Regions from separate parts of the Homo sapiens genome. Here region 1 is linked to region 2. The links are contacts of gene promoters, found by promoter capture Hi-C in blood cells and fetal thymus (Javierre and others, 2016). All regions are on one chromosome and are shown on one strand. The core of a region is centred on a gene start or on the middle of the fragment in contact, and the rest is flanking DNA. Distances in the headings are between cores, read along the strand shown.

What was found. Contacts are between HindIII fragments. The CHiCAGO score rates a contact against its expected background, and 5 or more counts as called.
Region 1: a fragment that was not itself captured here is called in contact with the fragment with the promoter of RFT1 in region 2 in 7 of 17 cell types (M1 macrophages, M0 macrophages, M2 macrophages and 4 more); the score reaches 9.9 in M1 macrophages.

What each region holds. Positions count from the first base shown.
Region 1 is chr3:53,210,048-53,213,014 of GRCh38, forward strand. No RefSeq gene overlaps it. Among named protein-coding and RNA genes, the nearest start is that of TKT, 44 kb to the right of the region's middle. The HindIII fragment of the contact is 318 bases long and covers 1,416-1,733 here.
Region 2 is chr3:53,128,482-53,131,828 of GRCh38, forward strand. RFT1 (RFT1 glycolipid translocator homolog) reads right to left here and starts at 1,954. Exons shown (of 13, transcript NM_052859.4): 1 at 1,857-1,954. The coding sequence starts at 1,919. RefSeq lists enhancers at 1,810-1,999, 2,010-2,059, 2,100-2,299, 2,310-2,359. The HindIII fragment of the contact is 8,425 bases long and covers 1-3,347 here.

The sequences.
Region 1 (2,967 bases), core at 325-2,824, 81 kb after region 2:
TTCTTAGCAGAATCCAGGCCCCTTTCATCCTCCTAACTTGGTGGCCTTTCATTAGTTTTACAAAGGTGGTTTAGTTTTGGGAAGGGCGATTATCATTTAAACCACAAACCAAATTTCTCCCAAGGTTAGCGAGTCCCATGCCCAGGAATGACCAAGGGCAGTTTGGAGGTTAAAAGCAAGATGGAGTTGGTTAGATCAAATTTTGCCTTCATGATTTTCTCGCTGATATAATTTCTGCAAAGGCAGTTTCAATGTAGCCTTGGAAATTGAGACTCCGCTTTAGGCTTACATGCAGATTTTTCAGGTTTATGCGAGATGTGAACAGAAAGACACTGTTTTGGTTTGGGAAGTTTAGAAATTGGTGGAAAGTCTGATTAATGTTGTACTTTGGGTACTCTGTAAGTTTATTTTCTTTGTTTGTTTTCTTTTGGTTTAGTAAACCGTTTTTTGAGAATTTCAGCCTGTCTTTTCTATGCTAAAGAAAGCCACAGAAAGGTTTTGTCTTGGACCTAGGACTTGCGACATGTGGAGATTCCCCATTCTGGCCGGGCATGGTGGCTCATGCCTGTAATCCCAGCACTTTGGGAGGCCAAGGCGGTGGATCACTTGAGGTCAGGAGTTTGAGACCAGCCTGGCCAACATGGTGAAACCCTGTCTTCTACTAAAAATACAAAAATTAGCCAGGCATGGTGGCGGGCACCTGTAATTCCAGCTACTCGGGAGGCTGAGGCAGGAGAATCACTTGAACCCAGGAGGCAGAGGTTGCAGTGAGCCAAGATCATACCACTGCACTCCAGTCTGGTCAACACAGTGAGACTCCATCTACAAAAAAAAAAAAAAAAAAAAAAAAAAAAGATTCCCCATTCTGTTCATGAGCCAGGCTTGGGGAATTGCTGGCCTAGAGGACATGAACTAGGGCGTGTTCATTTTTGCGTTCCCCTCAGCACAGGACTTTGGCAATGGAAATTATTCAATATAAAGTTGGAAAAGAAAAAGTTCCTCTTCTGCAAAGGTGAAATTAAAAGTCTCTTCAGTCTTTTCAGACATAGTTAGGGACTAAATTAATGAAGTTAGCTTTGGTTAGCTGAAATTTAACAAATATTTGTTCATTCACTCAACAACCACTTGTTCTATGCAAGTTCATGTATGATTTTATATATATATATATATATATATATATATATATATATATATATGAAAGAATAAAAAATTTTGATTCCAAATAATTTCAAATGAATTTTTTGTGAGGTAAAATGTACAAAATATAAAATTTACCATTTTAAACATTTGTAAGTGTACAATTCAGTGGCATTAAGTATATTTCATGGTGCAACCAATCCTAGCACTTCGGGAGGCTGAGGCAGGAGGATCATTTGAGCCCAGGAGTTCAAGACCAGTCTGGGCAACATGGCAAAAGCTTATCTCTACAAAAAATACAGAAATTAACTGGGCATGGTGACACACACCTATAGTCCCAGCTACTCGGGAGGCTGAGGTGGGAGGATCACTTGAGCTGTGGAGGTCGAAGCTGCAGTGAGCCATGATCACACCACTGCACTCGAGCCTGGATGACAGAACAAGACCTTGGCTCAAAAAGAAAAAAGAAAAAAAGAAAGAAATGGCAATGAGACTGGGCAATGTAATTTATAAAAAAAGAGGTTTAATTGGCTTACAGTTCTGCAGGCTACACAGGAGGCATGGTACCTGGATCTGCTTCTGGGGAGGCCTCAGGAAGCTTACAATCACAGTGGAAGGCAAAGTGGGAGCAGGCACATCACATGGCCAGAGCAGGAGCCAAGAGAGCCTGTGTGGGGTGAGGAGAGGGCCACACACTTTTAAATGACTAGATTTCCTGTGAACTCAGAGTGTGAGCTCACTCATCAACAAGGGGATGGCCCAGGCCATTCATGAGGGATCTGCCTCCATGACCCGAACACCTCCCAACAGGCCCCACCTCCAACACTGGAGATTCCAATTTGACATGAGATTTGGAGGGGGCAAATATCCAAACTCTATCAACTACCATTCATCCTCCAGAACTTTTCATATTCCCAAACTGAAACTGTATTAGATAATAATTCTCTATTCTCCCCTCCCCATGACCTTGGCAACCAACATTCTACTTTCTGTCTCTATGATTTGACTATTCTAGGTACTTCAGATAAGTGAAATCACAGAGTATATGTCTTTCGTGGCTGGCTTATTTCACTTAGTGCAATGTCTTTGAGGCTTATCTTTGTAATATGTGCCAGAATTTCTTCCCTCTTTAAGGCTGAATAATATCCCCTTGTGTGTATGTACCACGTTTTGTTTACCCGTTGATGGACTCCTGGATTGCTTTCACCTTTTGGTTATTGTGAATGATGCTGCTGTGGACCTATTTAAGTTCCTGCTTTCAGTTCATTTGGGTATATTCCTAGCAGTGGAATTGCTAGGTCATATGGTAATTCTATATTTAACTTTTTGAGGAACTGCAACACGGTTTTCCACAGCGGGTGCAGCCTTTTTCATTTATATTTTACATTTCTTCAATGTACACAGGTTCCAGTTTCTCCACATCCTCGCTAACACTTGTTACTTTCCGTTGTTTTTTTAAAAAATTAGAGCCATCCTGCCGGGCATGGTGGCTCATTCCTATAATCTCAGAACTTTGGGAGGCTGAGGCAGGTGGATTGCTTGAGCTCAGGAGTTCAAGACCAGCCTGGGCAACATGGTGAAAGCCCGTCTCTACAAAAAATACAAAAATTAGCTGGGCACAGTGGCCTGTGCCGGTAGTCTCAGCTACCTGGGGAGGCTGAGGCAGGAGAATCACTTGAACCCTGGAGGCACAGGTTGCAGTGAGCTGAGATCGCTCCACTGCACTCCAGCCTGGGTGACAGGAGTGAAACCCTGTCGCAAAATAAATAAATAAATAAAATTAAAGCCATCCTAGTGAGTGTGAAGTAGTATCTTATGGTTTTGATTTGC
Region 2 (3,347 bases), core at 704-3,203:
CAACACAGCCTTCATTTACTTCTGCAAAGAACTTTACAGCTTTTGTTTTAAGACAGGGTCTCACTCTGTTGCTCAGGCTGGAGTGCAGTGGCATAATCACAGCTCACTGAGGCCTCAACCTCACAGACTCGAGATCATCCCACCTCAGCCTCCTGAGTAGCTGGGACTACAGGTGCATGCCACCACGCCCATCTAATTTTTGTATTTTTTGTAAAGACAAGGTTTCACCATGTTGCCCAGGCTGGTCTTCAACTCCTGAGCTCAAGCAATCCTCCTGCCTTGGCCTCCCAAAGTGCTGGGATGACAGGCATGAGCCACCGCGTCCAGCCAACTTTACAGTTTTAACAAAAAGGCTCTCTCACATCTGTTAAATTATTTGACACTAAAAACAACGAGGTAAATGCACAGGAAGCAAGACTGAGGGTTAAGTGATTTCCTCACTGTCACACGGCAAGTAAATGACCCAGCTTGACCTTACAGGTAAGCCACCTGACTCGTAGTCCAGTGTGTTTTCCGTTATAACTTGTTTTCGTTTTATGAAGCCTATCTGAGTAGTAAGATATTATCAAAGGCTGAAAAAAAACCAACATTGTGGATAAAACAATAAACTCAGTTATTTATGTAGTGAAACAGAAAAAAAAAATCCCTAGGTAAACTTAGAATGGCTAACATTTACTAAGCACATATCACGTGCAAGGCACTCTTCAACATGCTTTCCATAGGTTATCTCATTTCATTCCTACATTGACTATTTTAAAAATACTTATTACCCTAATAAAAATAGCTACATTTATTAAGTACTTGTAGTGTGCCAGGCACTTAAGAGGCATGATTTCATCTAATCTTCCTAATGACCCTGTGAGGTTGCACTATGATTCTCATTTAAGATGAAGAAACTGATACAGAAGTCATCGGATTTATCCCGAAGGCAGGCATCTAGCAAGTGACAAGGCCCAAACTCAAGCCCCATTCTGCTTGGTTCTTTCTTCTGCCCTCCATGTGCCTCTCTAAGATAAGGGGTAGGGTAGATTCGGGACTTGTGTGAAGTAGGGTTGATTGGCTCAAGAGTGAGACAGAGAGATACTGAGCCACTTGACTTAAGAGGTTCAGCTCCTGGGGTTGAAAGAATCTTCAGATACCATTTGGACTAACTGGCCTGTATCATACCTGACAGATGACAAAAATTAGGGCCAAGAAGGGAAGTGACTTGTCCAAGATCACATAAACAGAAGATGCAGCCAACATGTATTAAATGCATACTAAGAGCCGGGTACTGTGTTAAGTACGTTTATTTGAATGATCCCAATCAATCCCTGCTTATGAGCTAAGTACGACATATTATTACCCCCATTTTACTAGTGAGGAACTCAGGCTCTGCAGGTGAAGTCACTTGTCCTGGGTCACGGAGCAATCCAAGCCTAACTCCAGATTTCTCTTCTTAGCTATGCCATATGGACTCTCGGAACTCAGTGGGACTCAAAGTTTGAGGAAGGTGTTTGATGAAGGAAATGAACCCCTTGCCTGAAAAATATCAGATTCTCGAGCACGAAATACCAGTCCCTCACCCCCGCCACCTGATCTAATTCACTCCTACTGCCATATGGGAAATAGAATGCTCAGAAGGAAAGCGGCTTGTCTGCAGTCACCCGGCCTAGACTCTAAAGGCAGGCTCCTATCTCCGGGCCAGGGTCCCCCCTCATCAATGCCACCGTCTCCGGTCGACCCCCCCACCCCCTCCATTGCGGGGTCCACCTCGGGACTGGGTCGGCCCTGGGGCAGGCTCTCAAGGGCCCAAGGGCTGCCATCCCGCGAATCCCGGCTGCAGTACAAGCTGGAACCTGAAGGGCAGAGAGTACCTGCAGGAGGAGACCGGAGGAGGCCAGCCGGGCCGCGTGGCCCAGCACCTCCTGGCTGCCCATAGCCTCCGCGCCAGGCTCAGACACCAGGAAATGCCGCCGCCACTCCGTTTAGTCGCGATAAGATGGCGTCACGGCGCGCCTCGCTGTCTGATTGATGGCCTTGAGAGAGGGGGGCGGGGCACGAGAAGTTCTGGTCCTTTAAGTGGGCCTGTCTCGGGCCGTCTGTTATGGCGCCTGGCTCTTTCTATTTCGGTAGGTTTTGCGCTGTCTGTCGCTTGTGCGCTGTCTGTCCCTCTCTTCCCCGTATAAACGAAATAGTGTGGCGAGTACTAAGAGATACCGTTAAAGAATCCAAAGTTCCTTCTCTGAGGCTTTCAGCCACCAACCAAGAAGCACTAACTTTCCTGGCCTCATCTGCCAAAAGGGGAACAAACTTCTCACTGGCCCGTTAAGAAGATTCTCACCATTGACCTTTGCTTACAGAATCACAGCCACAGACCCTCTGAATTAGGCTGGACAGGAATTGTCCTCATTTAACAGAGAAAGAACTGAGGACCAGAAGTTAGATATAGCACTGTTATGTGTATGGTTTTGTGAAATCCTTCCGAAAGCTCTGAGAATTGGCCCCTGTGGTTAGAGATGAGTAAAGCCTTGGAGATGGGAAGTGACTTGTTCGAATCTACACAACTTGTTTCCTGACTAAGTGGATACCAGGCTCCTGATCCTAAACTTATCACTCTTGCCTGTATGCTAGAAATTGTGAGGGCAGAGTGGAAGAAGGACTGGAAGTGCTTTGTAAAAAAATGTAAAGCGCCCAACATACACAATCAGCTGCTGTTCTGTCAGTGTTCTTATTATCTACCAAGCAGGCTGTAGGAAGCCCAGTCTTTCCCCAATCTCTTTCAGTCCTCACATGATTTGGCCCCAACCTATCTTCTACTACCTTTCACACGATCATTGCCCTTCCCAACACTATCTAGGCCATAGCCATTCCGAGTCCTTACTGGTCCTCAAACAGGCGGTGACTCACTGGCCTTTGCTCCTCCACCCTCTTTGTCCAAAGTGTCTTCCCTGACAGCACCCCTTGCCCTCCTAGACCACACTGTCCTGACTTTCCTGGCCAACCACAGCTGGTACCTGCTGTGGACTAAATGTTTGTGTACCCTCAAAATTCATATGTTGAAGCCTAATCCCCAGTGTGATAGTATTAGGAGGTAAGGCCTTTGGGAAGTAATTAGGTCCTGAAAGTGGAGCCGTCATAATGGGATTCATGTCCTTATAAAAAGAGATGTCAGAAAAATGATCTCTGTGTTTACTATTTGAGGATACAGCAAGAATGTAGCTGTCTGCAACCACGAAGAAGGCTTTGTAAAATGTAAGGCGCCCAACATACACTTAACAGGAACCAAACTGGCTAGCACCTTGATCTTGGGCTTCCAGCCTCCAGAGCTGTGAGAGAAATTTCTGTTTTTGACTTACCCAGTCTAT